Regions from separate parts of the Homo sapiens genome. Here regions 1, 2, 3, 5, 6 and 7 are each linked to region 4. The links are contacts of gene promoters, found by promoter capture Hi-C in human tissues and cell types (Jung and others, 2019). All regions are on one chromosome and are shown on one strand. Each heading gives the region's core, a stretch centred on a gene start or on the middle of the fragment in contact. The rest is flanking DNA. Distances are from core to core; before and after follow the strand shown.

The links. The method cuts DNA at HindIII sites, captures the fragments that hold promoters and counts their contacts. A contact is called where the count stands out against the background at its distance.
Region 1: a fragment that was not itself captured here is called in contact with the fragment with the promoter of PIGO in region 4 in 1 of the 25 tissues and cell types used here (bladder).
Region 2: a fragment that was not itself captured here is called in contact with the fragment with the promoter of PIGO in region 4 in 1 of the 25 tissues and cell types used here (thymus).
Region 3: a contact is called between a fragment that was not itself captured here and the fragment with the promoter of PIGO in region 4, in 1 of the 25 tissues and cell types used here (hippocampus).
Region 5: a fragment that was not itself captured here is called in contact with the fragment with the promoter of PIGO in region 4 in 1 of the 25 tissues and cell types used here (spleen).
Region 6: a contact is called between a fragment that was not itself captured here and the fragment with the promoter of PIGO in region 4, in 1 of the 25 tissues and cell types used here (thymus).
Region 7: a contact is called between the fragment with the promoter of ARID3C here and the fragment with the promoter of PIGO in region 4, in 1 of the 25 tissues and cell types used here (IMR-90 fibroblasts).

The regions. Positions count from the first base shown.
Region 1 is chr9:35,425,938-35,429,916 of GRCh38, forward strand. It overlaps the pseudogene ATP8B5P. Among named protein-coding and RNA genes, the nearest start is that of RUSC2, 62 kb to the right of the region's middle. The HindIII fragment of the contact is 5,245 bases long and covers 1-3,979 here.
Region 2 is chr9:35,407,785-35,411,420 of GRCh38, forward strand. It overlaps the pseudogene ATP8B5P. Among named protein-coding and RNA genes, the nearest start is that of RUSC2, 81 kb to the right of the region's middle. The HindIII fragment of the contact is 4,062 bases long and covers 245-3,636 here.
Region 3 is chr9:34,755,512-34,759,154 of GRCh38, forward strand. It overlaps a transcript of PHF24 not described here. Among named protein-coding and RNA genes, the nearest start is that of SPATA31F1, 28 kb to the left of the region's middle. The HindIII fragment of the contact is 4,947 bases long and covers 1-3,643 here.
Region 4 is chr9:35,095,341-35,099,502 of GRCh38, forward strand. It overlaps PIGO (phosphatidylinositol glycan anchor biosynthesis class O), which reads right to left and starts at 1,251. Exons shown (of 11, transcript NM_032634.4): 1 at 815-1,251; 2 at 1-226. The coding sequence starts at 225. PIGO-AS1 (PIGO antisense RNA 1) reads left to right here and starts at 964. Exons shown (of 2, transcript NR_186491.1): 1 at 964-1,080; 2 at 2,420-2,804. RefSeq lists an enhancer at 918-1,257. The HindIII fragment of the contact is 8,015 bases long and covers 1-2,976 here.
Region 5 is chr9:34,681,609-34,685,624 of GRCh38, forward strand. It overlaps a transcript of PHF24 not described here. Among named protein-coding and RNA genes, the nearest start is that of CCL19, 7.7 kb to the right of the region's middle. The HindIII fragment of the contact is 6,606 bases long and covers 1-4,016 here.
Region 6 is chr9:34,781,640-34,785,253 of GRCh38, forward strand. It overlaps a transcript of PHF24 not described here. Among named protein-coding and RNA genes, the nearest start is that of SPATA31F1, 54 kb to the left of the region's middle. The HindIII fragment of the contact is 3,511 bases long and covers 1-3,433 here.
Region 7 is chr9:34,627,283-34,631,188 of GRCh38, forward strand. It overlaps ARID3C (AT-rich interaction domain 3C), which reads right to left and starts at 1,784. Exons shown (of 8, transcript NM_001017363.4): 1 at 1,635-1,784; 2 at 415-804. The coding sequence starts at 732. RefSeq lists silencers at 1,593-1,692, 1,743-1,902. The HindIII fragment of the contact is 10,650 bases long and covers 1-3,906 here.

The sequences.
Region 1 (3,979 bases), core at 428-2,927, 330 kb after region 4:
ATTTTACACATGAAGAAACTAAAGCCAAGAAATGAAAAGTGACTTGCCCTAGGTCACTTAACAATTTAGTTGCAGAGTCCAGTCTAGAATAGCTAAAATGTCCTGAGCATTTTTAATTATTAGGAATTGTTTTCAAATATTTTGTGTGCCTTAACTCATTAATCCTCCCAATAACCTTATGAGTAGATATTATTATCATTTCCATCTTACAGAAAAATAAAATGAATCTCAGGTTAAGTTACTTTCCCAAGGCTAAGAAATCTGGCTTTCTAGCCCCCAATTCCTCTTCTCCTCCTGGTGAAAATCCTATTTTCCTTTTTCCTTCTTTCTTTGTGGCAGGTCTGTCATCAAAGAACCAAAACAAGGTGAAGGTTAATCCTGCCCTGACTTTGGAGTCTCAATCTGTCTTTGCCAACTCAGGCTCTGAAGTGGAAGACTAAGATTTGAACCCTGACAGCCTGACTCAATTGTCTGTGTTCTTAACCACTATGGGAGCTTTCTATATTTTTTAACTTTAAGTCTACTGCACATTTTATAACACCAGCTTGCCTCACTTCACCAAGATGTCTGGCCCTTTTAGTTCAGTTATTTCACCATGCGCAGGCCAGCTTTTAGGACAGGTCCTTTGAAACCAGTCTTTGAATAGGCTGTAGATTCAACCCTCAGTTCCTAATGGAGAATGAATTTTCCACAGTCACCAGTGGCTAGAAGTAGGTGTTTGTCCCCTTGAGTTCCATAGCTAGGACTTCTTCAACTAGACTATTTCCTAGACTCTCCTTGTCTCAACTAATTTCCAACCTTCTGTCATTCTAACCTCTCACCCATAATTCACATTTTGTCATTCTCGTTTCAGCCAAACAGGAATAACCTTTGAATTAACAAGTAATGGGGAAAACACTTAGTCACCCAGTCTTCTCTTACAGTATTTACATGCCCCAGGGAATCTTGAATTAATCTTTATTATCCAGTCTGAAAACTTTCTTCCTGCCTTTATGATCTCAAACAAGACTGGTTACTTTCTTTCCTTACAGCCTGCCTTTTTTCTCTCTCAAACATTTAGTTTATTCTCTTAGATGGTTGTGCAAAGTGATGTTTTAACCACTTTTCTCATCATTCCTTCTTTTCCTTCATCGTAGACCTCTTAGGAAATCTGGCTTTCTAGCCCCCAATTCCTCTTCTCCTGGTGAAAATCCTACTTTCCTTTCTCCTTCTTCTTTCTTCATGGCAGGTCTGTCATTAAAGAGCCAGAACAAGGTGAAGGTTAATCCTGCCCCTACTTCGGAGTCTCAATCTGTCTTTAGCAACTCAGGCTCTGAACCTTGAGATCTACTGCTTTACTTTACTCTTCAACTCAAAGAGGGAGATATGTGTTCAGTATTCAGTTGTTGCATAGAGGCTGAACCCCAGGTATCCCTCAGAACTAGTGAGAGAATGGCCTGTTTCACCCAGATAAGTTGCTGGCAGAGGCTGTTAGACCCTTGTTAGGTTAAAAAATAATCAGGGATATTTAGGATTAAATTTAATAAGAAATGTGAAATCCAGTAAGAAAATATTATAACTTTATCAAAAGTTATAAAATAATATTTTTAAACAAATAGAAACGTTTTACTGGTCTGAAGGGATAAATGGCATGGGAGAAACTGATTTTATTCAGTAATCCATTAATATATTGAGTATGAACATAGCCTGTCCAAGGACTGGAGAATCTCAACACTAGTAGAAACACCAGTACTTCTCTGGTACCCTGCCTTAATCAGGTAGCTATCTGTGCCCCTTGAGAAAGTCCCTGCACAAAGGGCCTATGCCATACACCAGCTCTAAATCCTAGATGTGACTAAATTATCTGAGCTATGCATATTCCACTGCTTCAGAGAAGCTAAGCTTCAATGATTAGCAGAAGCCCTTGTATCACACAGTTGTAAATAAGCCACTAACCAGTCAAAATAAAGCTCCACAAAATATATCAATCCCATCTCACATAAGTATAAAACTTCTCCCATGTTTATTCAACTAGTAATCATCCAGTAACCATTCATCCTAATAATCACAAGAATAAAATATAAGAAGGAAGAAATGTACTAGTACAGTAGAACAAACTACAAGCTGCATAGCTGGGTTGTAAGCATAGTCCAGAGAAGACTCATAGCCATTTGCTTATGTATTGCTGGTAAGCTGACTATATAGACATGATCATCATGCACAAAGGAGTGGCGTCCCAGGAGGACACCAACAGCTATCTCTCTGTCTCTCTCACAGGAATATAGCATGTTACCAGATAGGGGGCTAATATTGCAAAAATGTCAACTCTATCCAAATTAGTGTACATAATCTAAATCTGTTTACTCTCAAATCCTTGGGTAAACCTAGCTGAACATCCCAGTTTCATCTTGGTCACAATTTGTACAAATGGTAACCACAAAGAAAAAGCCTCTAGTAGATACAGAAAAGAGAAAGATAGGAATCAAAGCACACCACTACAAAAGTCATCAGATCACAAAGGAAGACAGCAAGAGAGGAACAAAGGAACTACAAAACACTCAGAAAACAACAAAATGGCAATAGTAAATACCTATCTTAAATTACTTTAAATGTAAATAGATTGAATTCTCCCATCAAAAGACTGACTAGAATGGTTGAATGAAAAAACAAAACAAAACAAAAAAATAAGATCTAACAATATGCTACCCACAAGAGAGTCACTTTAACTTTAAGGACATACATAGGCTGAAAGTGAAGGGATGTAAAAAGATACTCCATGCAAATGGTAACCAAAAGAGGGCAAGGGTGGCTATGCTTATGTCAGAAAAATCTGTCATAAAAGACAGAAAGGTCATTATTTAATGATAAAGGGGCCAATTCATAAATAGGATATAACACTAGTGAATATAAATGCATCCAACAACAGAGCACTTAAATGTATAAGGCCAAAGGAAGACAGCAAGAGAGGATCAAACGAACTACAAAACACTCAGAAAACAATTAACAAAATGGCAATGCTAAATACTTACCTATCTATAATTACTTTAAGTGTATAAGGCAAAGATAAACAGAACTGAAGGGAGAAATAGACAGCAGTACAGTAAAGTAGAGAACCTCAATAATCCACTTTCAACAGTAGAATCATTCAGAAAGAGAATCAAGGAAACAGTGGACTTGAATAACACTATGAACAAATGGACCTAACAGATATATACAGAACATTCCATTCCCAAACAGCAGAATATATTGTTCTTTTCAAGTGCACATGGATCTGTTCTCCAGTATAAATCATATTTTGGGCCACAAAACACGTCTTAACAAATGTAAAAAGATTGAAAGTATATTAAGTATCTTTCCTAACTACATGGTATGAAACTAGAATAACAACCAATGGATGAAAAAAAAATCCAAAAGGTGAAATAAAAATACCTTTATACAAGTGGAAACATAACAAAACTTATGGGATGCAGCAAAAGTTGTTCTAAGAGAAAAGTTTATTGCAATAAATGCCTACATTAAGGAAAAAAAAAGAAAGATCTCAATTAAACAACCTACTTTTATACCTTAAGGAACTAGGAAAAGAACAAATTAAGCCCAAAGTTAGCAGAAGGAAGGAGTTAGAGTAAAAATAAATAAAATGGAGAATAGAAAAACAAGAAAAAATAATGAAACTAAGAATTGGTTTATTGAAAAGATAAACACAATTGACAAACCCTTAGGTAAACTTTTATTTTTAAAAGACTCTAAAATCCAAAATGAAAGAGAAAATGTACAACTGATGCCACAAAAATAAAAGGGATCACAAGAGACTATTATAAAGTTATATGCCAACAAATTGAATAACCTAGAAGAAATGGATAAATTCCTGGAGACATGCAACCTACCAAGCCTGATTAACAAAGAAAAAATCTGAACAGACTAATAAGTAAGGAGATCGAATTAGTAATCAAAAACCTCCCAGCAGGCCGGGTGCGGTGGCCCATGCCTGTAATCCCAGCAC
Region 2 (3,636 bases), core at 1,026-3,525, 310 kb after region 4:
TCTTGCTTGGTACTAGGTTCAAATGCAACAGATATTTTTTGAGCGCTTACTATGTGCCAGGTATTCATCTAGACATGAGGCCTAGCATTGAACCAAAAGAGACAAAAACCCCTTATAAATTTAAGAATGAGTCGTCAGCATATTAAGTGCCTACTCATTACCCAGTGCAGCGTCAAAGCATGGTGAAGTAGTAGGAAGAATCTGTATTCTAGATTTAACTCTGCCACTATATAGCTGTGTGAGAAAGATTTTTTCCCTGTGTGAGCCTGAACTTCCTCATCTGTAAAATAAGGAAGTTAAGCAAGGTAACCTCTAGTTTTCTAGTCTTGACTCATCTGTACTTTAGGGGACCTGAAAGAAATTGATTAAAATACATATACTTTATTGGCCTTTTCTGAGTTGGGTTAAGAATGGAGAGAAAAATAGGAAGCAAAGAAGGATATGTCTGTATAGCAAATCGTGGGGTTTGATAAAGTATAATTTTTCCAAGTATTAAAAAATTTGACTTTTATATAAATACGAAATTAATAGGTCTCCAATATTTTATTTATTAATTAATGAGGGAACCAGTAAGATATTAAGATCAGTTCAAATGAAAAATTAAGAGCTAAATATTTATAGGCAATTTAATAAAGGAATGTTAAAATACGATTTCTGAATGATATACAAAACTAATTAAGGTCCTAAAGTGCAATAAGTCATAAATTTTGGAGTCATCTTTTCCACCAGACATAAAACATTTTTATCACTACTAGATGAAAATCTATAAGTTAACCTCTGCCCTAACGAGTTATAAAATAGTCCAGTCAATAGAAAACTAATCAAAGATATAAACACAAAACTGTACTAAAAGATCATCCAATAATTTATTTCACCTGTTTCTAGGTTTCAGATGACTTTTCTGACAATTGTAGTCATCAACTTCAACTTAGTTGTCAGGAAATGAAATCTGTTTCCCAAGCTTTGAAACTATAACTTTATGATGAAGATAAATAAAGTGAATTCCAAACTACCATATGTGTCTTAGAGATAGATCATTTTGGACTTCAGGGATCAAGTTCCAAGTTTCTTAAGAATGTGTTTGAATGACACAGTATCAGCATGAGAAATTCTCATATTCTGAATCTTTATTTCCTTTATAGAAATTCCATGGAATTATAGTTGGTCTACTCTGCAATGTCTCTATTTAAAAGCCCAAGTGAGGACAGACAAGATGAACGTAGGTAAACTCAGGAAAATGTATCTGAGTATGTCATTATTATTACCTCTGAAGTGTGTGTGTGTGTGTGTGTGTGTGTGTGTGTATACATGCACATATGGCAGATCAACCTGGCAATCAGATTGTTAACCTACCAAACAACTGATCAGGAAAGGAAATATATTTTTCAAAAGTAAATACTTTGTACTTAGAAGTACAAGCTCCACTGTTTTATCATCTGAAAATCCTAATTTGAGTACTCTCTTAACTTTTATATTTGGAAATTCACCAGTAAAGCTTGTGTACCTTTCCTTCTCTCCCCATTCTTCATAACTGCCTCCTGCTAAAAAGAGGTGATCAGTGTGAAAAAAGGCTGCTGAGGCAGATAAGGTCCTCCTTTGCAGCCTTTTTGTGGACAGAACAAATGGATCTGTCTCTGTAGTAAGGGAGGATTTCCATACCATTTCTGTGCTTTCCTTTGGTGAATCAAGATTCTAAAGGGAGGCCGGGCGTGGTGGCTCACACCTGTAATCCCAGCACTGTGAGAGTCCAAGGCCGGCAGATCACTTGAGGCCAGGAGTTCAAGACTAGCTTGGCCAACATGGCAAAACCTGTCTCTACTAAAAATAAAATAAATAAATAAATAAATAAATAAATAAATAAATAAATAAATTAGCCAGGCATGGTGACACATGCCTATAGTCCCAGCTACTTGGGAGGTTGAGGGACAAGAATCGCGTGAGCCTGGGAGGTGGTGGTTGCAGTGAGCCAAGATTGTGCTATTGCAGTCCAACCTGGGTGACAGAGGGAAACTCTATCTTAAAAAAAAAAAAAATCCTAAAGGGAGCAGGAATAATCACACTCCAGCCATCTTTCAGAATGGAACTGCCTGTTATGTAAGAACAACAACAACAAATTATTTCTAATGTGAAATTTTGAAAAAGGAAGATTTAGATTTAGGCTTCCTTTTGAGGAATGGAGAAAGTGCAGAATGAAATCAGTTCACTGATTGAAGGTCACAGTGTACTTTCTTTCTTTTTTTTTTTTTTTAGTAACACGGAGTCTCGCTCCGTTGCCCAGGCTGGAGTGCAGTGGCGCGATCTGGGCTCACTGCAAGCTCCGCTTCGCAGGTTCACGCCATTCTCCTGCCTCAGCCTCCCAAGTAGCTGGGACTACAGGTGCCCGCCACCACACCTGGCTAATTTTTTGTATTTTTTTTTAGTAGAGACGGGGTTCCACTGCGTTAGCCAGTATGTTCTCCAGCTGACCTCGTGATCCACCCGCCTTGGCCTCCCAAAGTGCTGGGATTATAGGCGAGTATACTTTCTTTACTTGCTGTCATTGGGCAGTTGTCCGATTTCATCCTGGAGGAAGCCCATGTCAAGGACACTGGCCCTGGTTCCAGAAGTAGAAAGTCAGGAAACTTCCATCCAAAGGAAAACCAGGGAGTCCTCTGCTACCCTCAGGAGAGCTAAAGGGCTAAAGGACCCAGAAGATAATCAACTGCTCTGCATATTCTTATGAACAGAAAATATGGAGAGCCAGAATACTTTAGGGTGTGGTAAGTTCCAGGCAAATGAAAAATGTAATAATCATCAATAAAGACTGATCAATTCATTCGACAAATATTTATTGATTATTAAATAAGTGCGAGCCACTGTGCTAGGTATGGCAATACAATGGCAACAAAACTAGACAGAATTTCTGCTCTTAGCGAGATTATGGTTTAGCGAGGGGAAACATTAATTAACAGCATATTTAATAGCACCAATAAATATAAAATATCTGCCATAAATGCAGTGAAATAAATACCATATGGGAAGTATAGTAGTCAAGAGCATGAATTCTGGAGTCATACCGTCTAGGTTTGAATCCTAGCTCCACCACTTACCACGTTATCTTGGGCAAATCTCTTAATTTCTCTGCTACAGTTCCTCCTCTGTAAAATGGGGATAATAATAAAAGTGCTGCCACATAAGGTTGCTGTAAGGATTAAATTAGGTAATATTTATAAAGCATTTAGGACAGTATCTGCCACATGATAAACACTGGTAAATGTGTAAAAAATAATCAAAATAATCTATAAGAGCTTGACACTTTCAATCAGAAAGATAATTAAGAACTTCATCTATAAATGTGTGTTATTTCAAAAGCCAAACCTTTTACCAAGGAAAAAGAGTTGAAACCAGTTTTCCTGGTAAATCCCTACAGGTAGGCTAGGACTACCTATTGCAGGTAGATTTACTGCTTCTGCTATTTTGAGCAGTAAGCAATTAATACTGGTTTACCCAAGATTTTGGCCTATTCCACTGAATTTACAAAACGACAGTGCTAAACCCAATCATTTGGCAGGTAACACTATTTTGAATATTCAGAATCTTCAGGCCTATTCTGGTTGGAAAATCTACAGTACATAAATACTGGCCAGTTCTAACATC
Region 3 (3,643 bases), core at 761-3,260, 340 kb before region 4:
GTATATTTTTTGTATATTTGAGAAATGTCTGTTCAGATCATTTGCTCATTTTTAATTGGATTGTTGTTGTTTGCTGTTGAGATGTTTGAGTTCCTTGTATGTTGCTTTTAATTTTAATTATGATTATTAATATTTTAATTTTATTATTTTTAGAGACAGGGTCTTGCTCTGTTGCCCAAGCTGGAGTGTGGTAGAGCAATCATAGCTCACTCTAACCTTGAACTCCTGGACTCAAGCAATCTTCCTGCCTCAGCCACCCAATAGCAGCTGGGATTGCAGGTGTGTGCCATTGTGCTCAGCCTGTATAATCTGGATATAAATCACCTGTTAGATGAATAGTTTGTTAATATTTTTACCCATTCTGTTGGTTGTCTATTCACTCTGTTGATTATTTCCTTGCTGTGCAGAAGCTTTTCAGTTTGGTATAATCTCATTTGTTTATTTTTGCTCTTGTTGCCTGTGCTTTTGAGGTCTTATTCATAAAACGTATTACCAGACCAATGTCCTGAAGCATTTCTCTTATGTTTTTTTCTGGTAGTTTTAAAGTTTTTGGTCTTACTCTTCACCCTGTAATTAATTTTGAGTTGATCTCTTTCTCTCTTTCTTTCTCAAAGTTTCGCTCTTGTTGCCCAGGCTGGAGGGCAGTGGCATGATCTCAGCTCACTGCAACCTCTGCCTCCCAGGTTCAAGTGATTCTTGTGCCTCAGCCTCCTGAGTAGCTGGGATGATAGCAGTGCACCACCACGCCTGGCTAATTTTGTATTTTTAGTAGAGATGGGGTTTTGCCATGTTGGTCAGGCTGGTCCCGAACTCCCGACCTCAGGTGATCCAACCACCTTGGCCTCCCGAAGTGCTGGGATTACAGGTGTGAGCCACTGTGCCTGGCCCGATTTTTTTGTATGGTGAGTATTCATTCTTCTGCATATGGATATTCTATTTTGCCACTTAAGAAGAGAGTGTTTTTCCCCCAGAGTATGTTCCTGGTGCTTTTGTTGAAAATCAGTTGGCTGTAAATTCATGGATTTATTTCTTGGTTCTCTAGTCTGTTCCATTGGTCTATGTGTCACCTTTATGGTAGTGCCATGCTGTTTTGCCTACTAGAGCTTTGTAGTATATTTTGAAGTCAAGCAGTGTGATGCCTCCAGCTTTGTTCTTTTTGCTCAGGATTGATTTTGGCTATTCGAGGTCTTCTATGGTTGCATATAAATTTTAAGGGTTTTTTTTCTATTTCTGTGAAGAATGTCATTGGTATTTTCATAGGGATTGCATTGACTCTGTAGATCACTCTGGGTACAATGGTCATTTTAAGAATATTAATTCATCCAGTCTGTGAGCATGGAATGTCTTCTTATTTGCTTTTATCCTCTTCAGATTCCTTCATCAGTGTTTTTCTTTTCTTTTCTTTTCTTTTTTGAGATGGAGTCTTGCTCTGTCACCCAGGCTGCAGTGCAGTGGCGTGACTTGGCTCACTGCAACCTCAACCCCCAGGTTCAAGCAATTCTCCTGCCTCAGCTTCCTGAGTAGCTGGGATTACAGGCACCCGCCACCACACTTAGGCACTTTTTGTATTTTTAGCAGAGACAGCGTTTCACCATGTTGGCCAGGCTGGTCTTGAACTCCTGACCTCATGAGCCACCCACTTCGGTCTCCCAAAGTGCTGGGATTACAGGTGTGAGCCACTGCACCCTGCCCCTCAGTGTTTTTCATAGATTTCTTTGTAGAGATCCTACACTTCTTTGGTTAAATTTATTTCTAGTTTTTTTTTTTTTGTAGCTTTTGTAAATGTGATTGCTTTCCTGATTTCTTTTTCAGCTAGTTTGGTGTTCACATATAGAAATGCTACTGATTTTGTATGTTGATTTTGTATCCTGCAACTTTGCTGAATGTGTTTATCATCTCTAACATTTTTGGCAGGGTATAGTTTGGGGTTTTCTATGTATAATATGTCATGTGCAAACAGGGATAATCTCCTTTGGAGATTTCATATTTCCTTGCTTTTTCATGTTTGATGTGTCCCTATGTTGAGTTCTACGAATCTGGTGGAACAGTCACCTTTTCTCATTTTATGGGTTAGATTTCATAGGGAAAGGCTTATTCATATGGATGGGTCTTGGGGTGTTGGTTTGGTGAAGTGCATTGGCTTTGGTTCTAGGTGGATGCAAAAGTGTAGTCTCTATATAGTTTCGTCAGTTGTAATCCATGCTAGTGATGTTTGCATGTGTCTCAGTGGGCTAGGCTGTAATAGTTTATGGAAGTGGTGGTGCTCCTTTGCTGGGGGTAGACTTGCTGGGCTGTTTCTCAGGTTAGTGGTGCATATATATGCACATGGTGTGTTGGCCAGTTTGGGGTCTGGCTTGCTGGGATTAGGGCCATAGGGCTATTACTCTGGTTAGGAGAACATGTGTGGTTGCTCAGTCTGCCTTGGGGTGTACCTGGCAGGGGTGGTCCATGGGCTATTTCTCAGGACTGGGACATAGCCATATTGTTTCTTAGCTGGTTTTGGTGTATGTCTGCTGAGGGCAGCCCACAGGGCTATTTCTCAGGTCCAAGATGACATCGCAAGTCTGCTTGGCTGGCTTGGGGATATGTTTGCTGAGTCTCCCATGGGGCTATTCATCAGGCCAGGAGCATAGGCACAAGGCTGCTCAGCTGGCCTGGGTGCATCTTTGCCAAGAGTAGCCCTGCAGGGATGTTTCTCAGACCTTGATAGCAGGCATGGAGCCTTGGGCAGGAACAGGGTAACGGACATGGGGCCTGTTTCTCAGGCTCTGGGTGTGGACGTGTAGCTACTCCACCAGCCTGTGGGCATATCAGTTGTTTGGTGGTTTGGGGACAGCTCCTGCTTGGGGCAGGACACACAGTGGCTTGGCTGGCTTAAGGGCGGGTTCACCAGCTTAGGAGTGGGTTTGCCCTAGGTGAACTGGCAGACTGTTCCTCTGGCTGGAAGTATAGGCAGCAGGGATTGCTTTCCCTGCTGTGCAGGACCCAAGTCACAGCTGATCCTGGTCCCAGGTTCCATGCACCTGGGATTGCGGCATTCAGCAACCCTTGTGGGCTTGACATAATGAAGATGGAGCCACAGTGCTGGGGAGGTGCAGTGGCTACTGGCCCCCAGAGCAGGGTACACTTCAGAGGTGGCTTTTGTCTCAAGATGGCATCACGCTGCAGCAGCTTGGCTCACAGGGGATTGGCGGGGGATAGGCAGTACACATCTTGCTCTTCTAATGCAGGGCAATGTAGCTGTGTGAATATTAGGCAGCTCTCTATACTGGGCTCAGGACTTGTGAGGACTGTGGGATTCTCCTGTAGTAAGGACTGTGGGTGTTTGCAGTGGCAGCAGGCACTGGGGAGGATCTTCTGCTTACCTTTTCCCCTCAAAGGGAAGTCCTACCTGATTCTAGGCTAACCCAATCTGGCGAGGGAGGTGGGGCTTCAGAGGCTGGGTGCCTCCTCACTGCTCCCGTCACCACAGGCGCATCTCCACTCCCCCACTGCACTCCACCGCTCTCCCCTCAATACTGCAGTCAAATCTTAGCTGTTTATTCATTGCCTTGTTCCTTTTTGTAGTGGACACAAATGCCAGGTGTTTCTAATCAGCCATCTTGCTGCTGTCACTGAGCTGCCCTGTAAGTATTATTAGGCC
Region 4 (4,162 bases), core at 1-2,500:
TATCAGCACCAACACAACCCGCGAAAATCGGGAAGCCATCCAGCAGGCCCCAGGTTTCCCTTGGCTCCCCCATGGCAGGGACCCAGGGCCTGGGGGCTCTTGGCAGCTGCTATGGTTGGTGAGCTCCAAACGGGTGAGCAGGAAGCCACTGGTGAAGAGGGCAATGCCAGCGTAGAAGAGGAAGCAGACCCAGGCCAGGAAGAGCAACACTGAGGCTTTCTGCATCCTGATAGGGGTGGGGAAGTAAATTCATTACTGTGGGGCAAAGAACCAGTGGATATTCTGGTCCCTGAATACAAGCCCAGCTAGAATCACTTCCTCCCGGAAACCTTCCTGGAGATAAACCATTTCACAGCCAACCCCTCGCAATATTACTCTCCTCCTATTTCCAGGCTGGGCATGGTGGCTCACGCCTGTAATCCCAGCACTTTGGGAGGCCGAGGCGGGCGGATCACCTGAGGTGAGGAGTTCGAGACCAGCCTGGCCAAAATGGCGAAACCCCGTCCCTACTAAAAATACAAAAATGGGTGGCGGGCACCTGTAGTCTCAGCTACTGGGGAGGCTGACGCAGGAGAATCGCTTGAATCGGGGAGGCGGAGGTTGCAGTGAGCCGAGATTGAACCACTGCACTAGAGTCTGGACAACAGAGGGAGACGCCGTTTCATGAGGTCCCACCCCAGATCTACTGAATCAGGATCTTCGAGGGGTAGAGCATAGGAACGTTCACATGTACAGGCAGGAAATGCTAATGCTGCCTGTACATGTGAACAGTCAGGAGGGAAACTTATTCCAATTGGTAGTCAGGCTCTCTTACACGCCGTTTCTGCGCCTCTCCCCTCGCCAATCTCAATACCCAGTGGAAAGGGATCGAAGCCGCAGGGGAATCCGGGCCCAGCCGACGGCGCCGCCTGGCGGGCACCGAGGGGACGAAGGGGAGGAGTCACTCTCCGCTTCCGGGCGGCCAGGTTCGCCAGGAGACCTGAGGCACGACCTTCGCCACGCAAGGAGGCTGGGGCCCGGGTCGAGAGTCGACTGGGCCTCCGCTGGGACCCAGGCGTGCGACCGGCTCTGCCTCCTCCGGTAACTACCCAGCCTCCCGCTGGGCACCCTAGCCGCGGTACTGAGCACCTTGGTTAGGAGCTGAGGGGAAGAGGGAGACTCCCTTACTTCAGGGTGAGGGGAATACCGGGGGGTGAGGTTCTCGGGAGACCCTGGCTCACCTGCAATGGCACCCGGAAGTGCGGCGGCGGCGGCGCCTGCGACCTGGCAGCACAGAGATGCGTGCGCCAGACAGAGTGGCCCGTCGGTGGCTCCATCGCCATCTGCCGGCACCTCGGTGGAAGTTTGGCCAGGAGCGTGGGGCTGGCCCCAGTTTGATGGGATATTTAGTAATTGAAAATTGGGGACAGGGGACCAAGCTGGAGGAAGAGTTCAGGGAACCACTGTCCATTCATGGTTACGACTAAGAGCACGGCTGCTGGAGTCAAACTTGACTTGAATCCTAGCTTGGCCGCACATATTGTCATCATTAGGCATTACCTCATCTGTAAAATGGAGATAATACTTATTTTCCCTTTTTTGCTTAGCTGAGTCCAACTGAGATTTCATTACTCCTCCTTTCAAAGCCTGTAACTAAATCTTACGACTGAATAATTAAGCAAATAATCCTTCGGAGTGGAGGAGGGGAGGCTGGGCCCAGTGGTTCACACCTGTAATCCCAGCACTTTGGGAGGTCAAGGCAGGTGGATCACCTAAGGTCAGGAGTTCAAGACCAGCCCGGCCAATATGACGAAACGCCGTCTCTACTGAAAATACAAAAGTTACCCGGGAGTGGTGGCGGGCGCCTGTGATCCCAGATACCTGGGAGGCTGAGGCAGGAGAATCACTCGAACCCAGGAGGCAGAGGTTGCAGTGAGCCGAGATTGCACCACTGCACTCCAGCCTGGGCAACAGAGCAAGACTCCCTCTCAAAAAAAAAAAAAAAAATGCCAGGCACGATGACTCACACCTGTAAGCCCAGCACTTTGGGAGGCTGAGGCTGGAGAATCAGTTGAAGTCAGGAATTGGAGACCAGCCTGGCCAACATGCTGAAACCCCAACTCTACTAAAAATTACAAAATTTAGCCAGGCGTGGCGATGTGTACCTGTAGTCCCAGCTACTGAGGAGGCTGAGACTGGACAATTGCTTGAAGCCAGGAGGCAGAGGCTACAGTGAGCTGAGATCGTGCTACTGCACTCCAGCCTAGGCAACAGAGCAAGACTCTGTCTCAAAAAGAAACAAAACCCGTCCACTGGTTTCTCATCTCAGAGTAAAAGTTCTTGCATTGGCTCTACATGGCCCTGCACACTATCTGCCTCTTCCCCTTCTGATTCATCTAGCTGCCACTTCTTTGCTTCCCTAACTCTGTTCCATCCACAGCAGTTCTGCCTCAGGACCTTTGCATTTGCCATCTCCTCTGTCAGCTTCAGTTCCCGATGCCGAAATGGATCTCCATCACCTTCATATTGAAGCTCAACTGTAACATCAGCAAGGCTTCCTGCAATCCCCTACTTTACTAGTTCAGCACCTCCCACCACCACACCCCCTGGAAAAATTTCCCCTCACTTCCTTAATTTCTTCCATAGCACAACTCATCAGCATCTGAAATTCTACACGTATTTATGGTTTATCCCCTCCGAGTAGAATGTGAGCTCATTGAGGTCAGGGAATTCTGTTTTCTTCATGATATCCTCAGCACCTAGCATATATTTGAGGTTCACATACTGACCAAACGAATAAAGGAATATGTTAATTTTTAAAAAAAGTTGAGTTATTCTTCCACCTTCATCCCCATAGCCCCTTATCTCAGTTCAGACCTCATCCCTTCTCCAGGATCACTGAGGCAGCCTTCTCACTGTCCTCCCAGCCTCCTGTGTCTCCCTACTATCCCTTCTCCACATTGCAGCAAGACAGCTCTAACTAAAACATTAATGTGATTACTGTTATTTTTTTCTTTTTTGTAGAGATAGGGTCTTACCATGTTGCCCAGGCTGGTCAACTCCTGGGCTCAAGTGATCCTCCCACCTCAGCCTCCCAAAGTGCTGGGATCACAGGTATGAGTCACTGTGCCTGGCCAATGTGATGTTTTATCTTAAAATTCTTCATGGGAAGGGAAAAAAACCCTTCATAGGCCGGGCACAGTGGCTCACGCCTGTAATCCCAGCACTTTGGGAGGCTCAGGCGGGCAGATCACGAGGTCTGGAGTTCGAGATCAGCCTGACCAACATGGTGAAACCCTGTCTCTACAAAAAACAAAAAAATTAGCCAGGTATGGTGGCGCATGCCTGTAATCCCAGCTACTAAGGAGGCTGAGGCAGGAGAATTGCTTGAACCCGGGAGGCGGAGGTTGCAGTGAGCCGAGATCATGCCATTGCACTCCAGCCTGGACAACAGAGGGAGACGCTGTCTCAAACAAACAAACAAAAAAACCCTATTACCCTAGGGATAATGTCCAACCCCTTCAACAAGAATCTCATTCCTTGTGACTTGGCCCTTGCCATGTAGTCACATCCCCCTTAACACTATACCCTTCAGCCAACTTCTCTCAAGCAGTGAGCCTTTGTTTATTCTAGTCCAGGACCTGACTTGGTGAAAACTTGCTAACTTTTCCAGCCTGAGTTCAGTGGCAATCAGCAACGCTGCTACTCATAAGCTGATATGCTCTTCCCACCAAGATCCCTCAGCCAGAACTTTCCTCTACCACAGCATTTATCACTTTTTTTTTTTTTTTTAACAGAGTGTCTCACTGTTGCCAGGCTGGAGTGCAATGGCGTGATCACGGCTCACTGCAGCCTCCACCTCCCAGGTTCATGCAATTCTCCTGCCTCAGCCTCCCAAGCAACTGGGACTACCCGCACATGCTACCACGCCCAGCTAGTTTTTGTATTTTTAGTAGACGGGGTTTCACCATATTGGCCAGGATGGTCTCAATCTCCTGACCTCATGATCTGCACACCTCAGCCTCCCAAAGTGCTGGGATTACGGGTGTTGAGCCACCACGCCCGGCCACATTTATCACTTTCTATCACTGTCTGCTTCCTGTCTGTTTTCCCTACCTGACCTTGTATTCTGTGAAAGCAGGGACCACTGGGTTTCAGGTATTTTTGTAATCCAGTGTCTAGT
Region 5 (4,016 bases), core at 910-3,409, 410 kb before region 4:
GAGACCAGCTTGGCCAACATGGTGAAGCCCTGTCTCTACTAAAAATAGAAAAAGTAGCTGGGTGTGGTGGTGTGTACCTGTAGTCCCAGCTACTTGGGAGGCTGAGGCAGGAGAAGTGCTTGAACCCAGGAGTTGGAGATTGCATTGAGCCAAGATCATGCCACTGTACTCCAGCCTGGGTGACAGAGTGAGACTCCATCTCAAAAAAGAAGAAGAAGAAAAAAAAAGGTTAAATGAGGTCATAATCCGATAGGAGTATAGACTTAGAAGAAGAGGAAGGGACCTCTCTTTGTCTCTCTCTGTCACATAGTAAGAAGGTGGCTGGCTGGTTGCAAGCCACAAAAAAAGCCCTCACCAGAAAGTGACTATCTTGGCACTTTTTTTTTGAGGCAGGGTCTTGCTGTTGCCCAGGATGGAGTGCAGTGTCATGGTCACGGCTCACTGCAGTCTCAACCTCCCAGGCTCGAGAGTTCCTCCCAGCTCAGCTTCCCAAGTAACTGGGACTACAGGCACCTGCCACCACACCCGGCTAATTATTTCTATTTTTTTTTTTTTTTTTTTTTTTGTGGAGACATTGCCCAGACTGGTCTCAAATTCCTGGGCTGAAATGATCCTCCTGCTTTGGCCTCCCAAAGTGCAGGGATTACAGTCATGAACCACTGAGCCTGGCCCATCTTGGCACTTTTGATCGTGGACTTCTAACCTTCAGAACTGTGAGAAAATAAATTTCTGTTGTTTAAGCTACACAGTCTATGGAATTTTGTTATGACTACCTGAACAGACTAAGATGGATGTGGTAATTTCTAAGGCTCTGAGTTGTCTGTCTTTCGGGGGGGTGAATTTTTTTTGGCTGTATAAACAAAGGTGATATTATGTTAGGTGATACGCTCAATTTTCTAAGAAGTCTAGGGTTTGGGAAGAAGGATGTATGTTGATCTTGGATAGCCATAGTGTGGACTATAGAGATATTTATTATTATTATTTTCATTGCCCACAAAGTTAGCCCCTTTCTGTGTTTGAGAAACTTCCTATTATATTACTCTTGGTTACTGGTAGACTTTGCTTTCCATCATAGAATCCCCAAAAGTCACATACTAATTTTCCCAGCCCCCTCTGCACTAGGACTTGGACACATGACCTAGGCTTTGCTAATCATAGGACTGTGAATAGGAAACTAGTAGTGATGTGAAGGAGTGGGGTTATTAGAGAATCCATTTTTGGTGGTGGTAGCCGTGGTGGTGAAAGTGATGTCTATTTTACAGGGGCAGCTGTAGCTATGATTCCAGAGGTGGCATCTGGCAGGCTGACCACCTAACACTGGTGAGGCTTGGGGCAATAGTACAAATGGAGGCCCACTATCTAAATATTTAAAAGGTAAAAATCAAGCGAACAAGTTGTCAAATAAAAAATGTGTCTGTCTTCCTTACCTTGAAAAATATACTTTCTTTCTTTCTCTCTTTTTTTTTTTTTGAGACAGAGTTTTGCTCTGTTGCCCAGGCTGGAGTGCAATGGCACAATCTCAGCTCACTGCAACCTTTGCCTCCTGGGTTCAAGAGATTCTCCTGCCTCAGCCTCCCAAGTAGCTGGGATTACAGGCATGCGCCACCATACCTGGCTAATTTTTGTATTTTTAGTAGAGAAAGGGTTTTGCCATGTTGGCCAAGCTGGTCTCGAACTCCTGACCTCAGGTGATCCACCCGCCTTGGCCTCCCAAAGTGCTGGGATTAAAGGCGTGAGCCACCATGCCCGGCCAAAATATATACTTTCAAAACAACTTGGAGGCTAGGTTCAAGTTGAGAATTCTTGAACTCCTTGGAGATCCATGATGGAATGAGGTGGTAAGGGGAGAGCCCATCACCAGCCCTCCACTTGTCCCTCTCCTCTTCCTATCCACAGTTCTATCCTGCACCATGAAGGGTCTCACGTGTCTGGGTGTAAACACTCCAGCCCCATACATACAAGCTCCTTCTACATTCCCTGCAAATAGCTACTTCTTGGCTACCCTCTGGACCTGGTAGTGTGTATATCAGTAACATAGTCTATCCTAGGAAGAACAAATCTGAGGAAGAGGCCCATAATGATATTGGAAGCTACTTGGGGGCATTTGGGCAGGAAATTCTCTGTTTTTCAATTCCTGAAATATGGTCTAGAAGAAAAGAATGAGTTCTGGGTGGGTGCTCCCTTCGTCCTGTGGACTTTTTTTTCCTGTGTCCAGAGATATGATTAGAGGAGGGCCAGATCAGGGTCATCTAAAACATGGGATGCAGGGCAAGGGCCCCAGTTGTCTGGACATAAGCATTGTCCTGGCCACTTGGCATCGCCTTTTGGTGGTGCCACCATGCTGTCTTGGAGGCCTATCTGGACCATCTGTACTGTACCGTATGCTCTGGGAGTGGTTCTGGCTGCCTAGGCTCACTTATTCTCGCTATTTTCTGCATCTTCCCAGGGTCTTTTTAATAAACTCCTTTTCTGTTGGAATCAGCCAGTGAGTTTCAGTGGCTTGCAAGTAAGAATCCTGATCCACACTTTTGTTTATTTGCCTTTTGTTTTTGGAGGAGAGGGGGAAGCTTCATGAAGACCAAGACCATATCTATCTTGTTCACTATCGTATCACCAGCACCTAGAATAGTGCCTGGAATGAATAAGTGTTCTGGGTTGCAGACAGTGATGAGGCATCACTTTAGACGTGAGGGGTTTTCCCAGGGCTGGAAACCTATGTGATGGCAGCGCTGAGACTACTGGGGGCCTTACACTAACATTCAGAGTGATACTCTGGCACTCAGTGCTGCCATACCAGGAGCCATTTACGTAGACTACAGAGAGGATGGTGCCCCCTGGAGTTGTGCAGTGCTGCTGTCCTGCCTCACAGGTTTAAGTGTTCCTGACAGTGGTAGGGTTTCCTGAGAGGAATGGTGGCTTGATAGTAATGGGGGGACCTTGACATTAATGGGTGTCCTGTCAGCAATGAGGACATAATAGGCATTGGGACATCCTATCAGGAATGGGGGTTCCTCAACTGATGAGCACTTTGCAGTGTTGAGGCCCTGACAGAAGGGCTGGCTTCCTCTTGGGAGAGGACCCTTGAAATGATGGTTTGGCAGGAATGAGGTCGACGTGGTGATTGGGGTTTGGATTGTGTTAGGCTCAGATTTCCAGGGACTGGGATTCTGAGATCAAAAGCCCTAGGAGATCTGGTTGTCCCAGAATGGTAGTGTTCCTGTGGCTGGGGTGAAAGCTTTCCCACCTCTGCCAGGTTGGAGCCGAGGGTGGCTCACATCTTCTGCATCCCCCTGGAGCCACGGGGAAGACCCAAAGGCCCTAGAAGTAGGGTGGGGAGGCCTGATTCCCTCATCTACCCTGATCCTTAGAGGTTCTGTCCTTGCTGTTTTCCTCCAACCCTGCCCTGCCTGCCCCTGGCCCCTTGGGAGATGGAAGTGTCCCTCAGAAATGGGCCTTTTGAGAGTTGATGCTGCCTTGCTGCCCTCAGATGCTTTGCTCTTCAGAGGTCCTCTGCCACCTGCCGATCAGACGCCTGGCCCCACTCCTTTCCAGGAGCCCTGCCTGTCACAAGGTTCCTTGTCCTGCCTCTACCCCTACCCTCCAGATCCCCAGCACTCTTCCTACATTCCTCATTTCCTTTCAATATCACCAGGTCCTGGCATCTGATACTCCCCTGGGAATAGGAGTAGGGTGGGCATTGCTGTAGCCCAATCCCCTTCTCTACTCCTCTGTTGTTGGGAAAACTGAGGCCTGAGTAAACTCCCTCTTTGAGGCTCTGGGGAAGCTGATGCTCCTTCTACTGCAGAGGCCCAGGAAGCTGGAAGCCCTCTAGGGTGTGTCTTTGTGTCTGGGTTCAAGTGTTAGGACCCCACCTTTGGCCACCAGCTTCCTCTCTTGTTTTTTCCCCAGCTCTTTCTAGCAAGCTGAGCTTTTCTACCCCAACTAGACTTCCCAGCCCCCAGCCCTCAGTCCAAGTGCTGCCCATCAGTCAGGCTTAGACTGCAATCCCAGCTTTG
Region 6 (3,614 bases), core at 428-2,927, 310 kb before region 4:
AATAGAGCAAAACCCCTTGAATTGTACACTTTAAATGGCTGAAGTTATGGTATGTGGATTATATCTCAGTAAGGCTGTTAGGGAAAAAAAAAAAAGCATTGTAGGAAGTAGTTGGGAAATGTGTTAGTTCAACCCCATCATTTTCTGTAGGGGGAGAAAGCAGCAACAATGCATGTGCCAGTGAATTCCACTCTTGCAATCAATAGGTTGGTAAGTACAGCAGTTATCTGCAAAACTCTGTATTATTTCTATTATTAATGTGACATTTCCCAGGCACAGTAAGAATAGAAGGGCTGAAATTACATTCATTGTCCCCACATGGGAGAGAAGAACCTCCTGAAATCATGGGTTCTAGGCAAAAATGTCCAAATCTCCACCCATAATGGGACAGGAAGCAGGGTACATGAGCTAGCTCTGGAATGTGAGATTCTTTCCTGAAGAAGGAGGAATGATGAAACTGAGGGAGTAAATGAAGTCCTCCAACTTGCACGAGAGCTGGGTTACAAAACTCACTGAAGTGCTCAGTGGATAATTATTAGTGGAGATCACAGAGGCAGTTAGCAAATCAGTGGATGGTCACATGTCAGAGGCCTGAAAAATGAGAGCAAGACTCAGTGATTTTGGGGTAAGTAGGGTAGAGGAGGGACAGGGGAGGATTTCTCAGCAATTTCGTATAATAATAACCACTCGTGGTTTGTTTTCTGGTAGACACACATCTCTCAACAATTCATTAGTTCACTCCATCCACAGCTCCTCTATTCTCTAGCAGTTTGCCTCCCTCACCCCACCAAATCCCATACCCCGCTTATGAAAAGTTGAGGATTATTTCTTGGACTGATTCAAGGTCACAGAGATATTTGAATGCCATATGGCTAAAAATACAGATCCAATCTGCCTTCCAGTCCAGTGACTCATCCTGTCACTAGAGGTAGAGAGCAAGAGCATGAAGTGGAAGTACTAGACTTCCAACAGCGATATAGACTACTCCAATCCCTGAGGCAGAGGTAAGGGTCTGACTTAGAGAGGCATTTATGAATTCATGGGAAGTAGCTCTTCTTCCATGTTTGGAAGAGCTTCTCAAACATGCCAAGTCTTATGCAAAACAAACTTGAGAAAGCTCCACACCCAACCTACTGTTTGATTGGGAGAGGCCTACATAGCAGTGGTAGGGTTTGGGGATGGGGTAGGATGAGGGATGGATCCCTGCTCCAAACCTATATCTTTAAGCTAGTCTGACTTATCCAAGCACCAGGCATCAGAAAAGCCTCAAATACTTGAACTCCAATCCCAGAAAACATCCATCTAAGCCCTTCCTGATTTAGCTGCAAACTGTGTTCATCTAGGTTGCGTTTTGTTTCTGACCTGTTTCTGACCTATCTCTTTTCTTATTTGTAGCATTGCTCTTGCCTCCAGAATTCCCAATTGATCCTCATTTTTCAGCTTGACTCTCAGCTTTGCTTAAGAATTCTGTTTAAATTCACTTTGGATCTTCCTGCTCCTTGCTGCCCCATCCCAGTTCAGTCCTTAGAACTTAAATCCTGACAGTGATATACTTGGCTGATGCTTCAACCAGGACCACCAGGTTTAGTCATAAGCGTGAAAGGAAGCAAGTTACACTGCGCCATCTTATCCACATGGATTTCATGAAAGGGCCCGATAACTTATTAAAATCCATCCTCTCTTCTCCGGACTCTTAATATTGAGAACTGAAACCATTTACTCCTACACAGCTTACTATCTACGTTAACATGACTTTAATTTCAATTGTCTTCACATCCCAAGACTTTGTGCTCCTGGCTTCAAAACGACCTCTTTTCTTTTTTCACCAATCCTAATATTCTATCATAGCCCTTACCCTATCCTAATTAAGCCCTCTCTATTGCACTCACCCCTGCTCTGACAGACCTGCCTTAAACTAGACTTCAAAATCTGAATAAATCAAATCTTGTTCATTCTCCTCCAAGAAACTACCATATTATGTCTCCCTTATCACTGTAAGAAATAAAATAATCTTTTTCTTATCAATAAGTTGTTCTGGTAATATTTAGGGACTTGGAATTTGATCAGTTTCCTGATATTATTTCCTACAGATTACAGAAAATGTAATACTGCATTGGGAGGGCAGTGACTTAATAACCTCAAGCTTCCCTTATAAAGAATATCAAATAAAGTGAATAGCGGTTTCTGGAATACAACCTGAACTCCAGTTTAACTTTTTAATTGATGTATAATGTTGCCTTTCCTGTTCTAGCCCATTTGTAATTTTTAGGTATCATTAAAACTTTTCTTAGACCAGTAAAACTCTCCATCTACTTGCTGAAATTTCTGCTCTATATTTTTTAGCATAGACTTTGAGATAGTTTTTAAACACTGCCTCCAAGAAGCCAGCAGCTAGTGGGTTTGACAGCTATTTCCTCTGTGCTCGAGTCAGTGCCAGAGTAGCTTCTGTAGGTAATCTCCCTGCATGGCTGGCTGGCAATATCATTTTGATATAAGATATTCTCTAAGGAAGAGTTTCCATAAATAGGCTTGCTGCTAGAGCTGGTGGAGGCGTCTTGCCTAGTAATTAAGTTTTCTTGTACAAGGAGTTATATGGTTTTGTATGTGCACAAGTGAAAGTGCATAAGACATGCGTGGGCAGGTATGCTTTCAACTTGTTAGTGATGTTCTCAACTAGGAGTTCATGCTTCAGGGAGTAGGAAATGATTGCTTATTCTACCATTTCAGAATTTGCATAATATATCTGGGGAAAATATTTTTAAATGTACTATGACCTTTTTATCTTGTAAGGAGTGAAGGAAATCCTTATCCTATTCCAATTTGAATTATGTTCAGCCTCAAACGGTACCATAAGATGGTATGGTAGGTGCAGGGAGACAGCACTGTTAACACATAGTTCACATGCATAGTCTGAAAGTGTCTGTTTTCTGACCTTTAATTTTCCATGACCAGGACAGTATTATACACAGCTATTTCTTAACATAAACTTATCTGACGATTTCCACTGTCCTGCTTTTGTGCTCCAGATCTTTAACAGGTGGCAAAGAAGACAAATATGATGAGACCACATGAATGCTGCCCAACTTTTCAGTGATTATTAAGTGCAAATATCCTCCTTGTAAGACATATGTTTTCTTAGTTTCAAGATAGTGAAAGGACTAAGACCAATTTTGTAGACATACGAGAATACTAGAAATTGAATTACACTAAGGATCATTTATATTGAGTCAACCAGTTTTTTCTAATGTGGTCTTCTGTAAAATTTAGCTAAAATATTTCAGCTGTTTCACAAGTGTTTGGTTTTAATTTAATTTTGAAATGTGTTTTAGCTTTTAAAAATGTGAATACACAGCAGCACACAAACTTAAATGTGTCCTCTACTATCTTAGTCTGCTTGCGTTCCTGTAACAAGATGCCACAGACTGGGTAATTTATAAATAAGAGAGATGTATTTCTTACAGTTCTGAAGGCTGGGAGATCTAAAATCAAGGTGCTGGCAGGTTTGGTGTCTGTTTGGCGGTGTTTGTTGTTTGCTGTTCTTTCTGTATCCAAGATGGCATCTTGCTGTGTGCTCCAGAAGGGACAAATGCTGTGTCCTCACATAGGTGAAGGCA
Region 7 (3,906 bases), core at 534-3,033, 470 kb before region 4:
TGACTTGATGTGTGAGAAGGTAGGCAGGGTGGTGCTGGCATTGGAATCCCCAGCCCCTAGACTGCCTTCCCTACACCTGGCTGGGCATGGTGGCTCATCCCTGTAATCTCAGCACTTTGGGAAGCTGAGGTGGGAGGATTACCTGAAGTCAAGAGTTCGAGACCGGCCTGGGCAATACAAGAAAACCTTGTCTTTACAAAAGAAATTTTAAAAAATTAGCCAGGCATCTGTCTTTCCCTCCCTGTCACTATCCTCCAATCTTCTCTCTGTCTTTCTATAGGTCTCCGTGTCTCTGTGTCTCTTTTCATCTTGCAGAGGGTGGTGGGGGTGGGTGGGCTGCTAATCACCTGGCTGTGCTTTTGCCAGAAGAGAGAGATAGGGAAGAGGGCCGGACATTGAGGGCATAGGTCCTACCTGCTTGAATTGTTCCTCGTAGGTCCACTCGTGGGGATGGAGTCCAGGGGGCTGGCTAGAAGGCGAGCTGGGGCCCTGGGCCCCTGGACGGCTCTCCTCAGCTGCCTCCTCCTCTGCCCCGGCTTCCTCCCGCTTCTCCTCATCTTCTTCAGCATCTTCCTCTTCCTCAGCCCCAACATTCCCCAAGGCCCCCTCAGGGGCCTGTAGGGTCCGGTGGTCAGGCAGGGGAGGCTGCGGTGGCAGCAGCGGGCATGCAGGGGCCAATGGCCCCACCCCCTGGGCCAGCCGAGCTGCCTGCTGCTTCTGCAGGGCCTCCATGACAGCTTCCAGGCGCAGTCCCCCAGCTGAGGGGGTCCCTGGTACCAGGCGGGACCCCGAGGAAAGGGCCGCCTGTGGGGGAGGGAATTATGGGTGCTGGGCCCTACTGCCCCCAGAGCCCCCCAACACAGGGGGAGGTGGTCATGGATTCAGGGAAGTGCAGGGGTCACAAGGAAAGAGGCAGAAAGATGGCTTTCCCAGAGGTGAACAGAAACAGGACCAGACCCGGGGAATCAAATGGCCATTGACTGAGGACTGGAAGAGTGAGCAGATCAGAGAGGGTGACGGGGACCAAGAGACATCGGGAAATGGTGAAGGAAGGGAGAGAGAAAGAAAAGGAGAAGGGGGATGTCCGACAGAGACAATGACAGGGAGATGTGAAAATAGAGATGGAACAGGGTGACAAGGAGAGACAGAAGTGGGGTGACACAGAGACTGAGAGGGACCAAGATGGAGAGAGGCAGAGGTATCAGGCAGAGACAGGGTAGACAGACAGAGATGGAGAGAGATAGAATATTGGGTAGAGAGACAGGGAGGGTAAGAGAGGTAGAGGAGCAACAGATAAAAGACCTAAGTGACAGGTAGCTCAGAGACGGACAGAGACGGAGAGACAGAGGCGGAGATAGACAAATAGACAGGGGTTGAGATATAGGGAAAGACCAAGACAGCAGGAAACGGACAGAAGAGAGAGATTAGAAAGAGACAGTTAAATAGAGAGGGACCGACAGAGACAGGGACGGGAAAAACAGCCGGAGAGAGGGGCAGAGGACAGGGACCAAGGAGTCGCGGGGATGGAGGGCGGTGGGGCAGAGCCTGGGACGGGCACGGGACCGGACGGGCAGGAGGCGGCAGAGTCGCGACGCCCGGCTCCCTCGCTCCGGGCGCCCCGCGGCCGCACTCACCTGCCTGGCGTGGCCCGCTGCCCCTGGCGTCTCCACGGCGCTGCCTTTGCTCCGCCCGCCTCCCAGGCGGCCCTGGCCTCGGCTGGGTCCCGGCGGTGCGCTCCCGCCGCCCTGTGCTCCTCTGGCGGCTGTGCGCTCACTCGCCGCGCTGCTTGCGGCGGCCGCGGGGGCGGGACCCGAGCGGGGCAGGGCGGGCGGGGCGCATGGGGAGAGGCCCCTGTGGGATCTGCCGCTCTCAGCTCCCCAACAGGTGTCTCCCACCTTCTTTCCAGCCAGCTTCGGGGGCAGGGGGCGCTGGAAAGCTGCGGGGGAATCGTGCGAAAATGAGGGCTCTACCGCCACCGGACTCCGGACCAGAGCCCCGCCCAGCCTCACAAGTCGTGCCCCCGACACCCACACTCGGCACTGGGCTTCCACATACAAATAGCCGCATCCACACACCAACACACCTTGTCACAAGTTCAGGCGCATAGCTTCCCAGTCTCACACGTTCCGTGACATGGTCACCACAGTGCCAATGGCCTGGGCACGCTGTGATCAAGAGGGGAATCCCTCTGCAAGATGCTGGGGTGTGCGTGGAGGGTCTGGTCAGAATAGAAGCTTCTCCCTTTGCCTTGAGCACCCCTGCCCTGCCTACGTGCTGTCCCCCACTGCGGGCATGCTGCGGTTTGCACACATGAGTGCACATGGTGGTGGACCCACACCTATGCACTCACACACTCTCAGAGGTCTTTAAGCTGACTGCACACTCACCGCATGCAGATACACAGCCACACACAGTTTTTGTCTCTTTTGACATTCTATTATGGAAATTTTCTTTTCTTTTCTTTTTCTTTCTTTTCTTTTTTTTCTTTTTTGGAGACAGAGTCTCTGTCACCCAGGCTGGAGTGCAGTGGCGCGATCTGGGCTCACTGCAGCCTCCGCCTCCCAGGTTCAAGTGATTCTACTGCCTCAGCCTCCCGAATAGCTGGAATTAGCTGGGATTACAGGCGTCCACCACCAGACCCGGCTAATTTTTGTCTTTTTAGTAGAGATGGGGTTTCACCATTTTGGCTAGGCTGGTCTCGAACTCCTGACCTCAAGTGATCCACCCACCCTGGCCACCCACAGTGCTGGGATTACAGGCATGAGCTACCGTACCCAGCCTGTATTATGAAAATTTTGAAACATAGACAAGTGAATAGTATAATGAACCTCTGGTACTCATCATAGGTTTGTTTCAACAGTGACCGGCACTTCGCCCATGTTCACACACATTCTCCACCTATGTGTGCCTGACTGCCACATCTGTATCTCCAGACCCCCTCAGCCCACTGCTTTGCGCCCTCCCCCTAACTATTCCCAAGACGCTGAAATGCTGTTCCTTATTTGGGGGTTCTGAGTGGCAGGCCTCTCAGAATTTCTGCTCTGAACAGCCTGGACCCCACTCCTCCCGGGAATCCTCATACTTCCTATTTCTTCCTGTGCCCAAGGGGACCACTTACCAAACAGAGGGACACTGTGAGGTGATGCCAAGTGTGTAAGTGAACAGCAGGTGTCTGTAGGGGTGACACTTGGCATAGGTATGAAACTGTGGCACCAGAGACTGTCTTCTGACCTCACACCCCCAGAAGGCAGGAATCCAAACACGACCTTTGTCTCCTCCCTCCTCCCTTGTCCTCTCCCAATCAGTCCACTCCTCTCAGCCTCAGCTTGCTCTGGCTCAAACCACCGGCTCTTCTGACCATGGTGGGTCTGACCATGGTGGGTGCCTCCTCCCTGCTCTCCCTGCCTCCAGCCGCCACCCTTCTCTGCACCCTTCTGTGCCCAGCTTCTACTGCAGCACTAAGTCCTGGTTCTCTATGGCCCATTCCTGGCCACGCTGAGGCTCACCCCATTCATTCCTTTGGCTGCCCCAGTGTCCTCCACCTCAGATTTCAGACCTCTGAGCCCATCAGAACCCCCCAGCCTCCAGAAGCTCCAGTGATCCAATCACTGTCGGTACTGATGCCTCCTCCCCCATGGCTTTGTTTGGTGTGAGTATCCTGGGGCAGAGCCAAGCCTCCTCCTCTGCCCAACCCTCCCTGATGCTGGGAGGGGAGAATCAGTGAATGTGCCAGGCAGACAGACATGCCCTGGAAGTCTACTGGAAGACTGGAGAGCAGAGGGTAGCAATCCACAGAACCCTTGTGCCCTGCTTGCTCCCTTTTCCCCACCACAGCTTCCCCTGGCTGCTCAGAGGAGGTCCATGGACAAAGGTAGGTGGCCAGAGTCTTCCTAGAAAGGTAGGAAT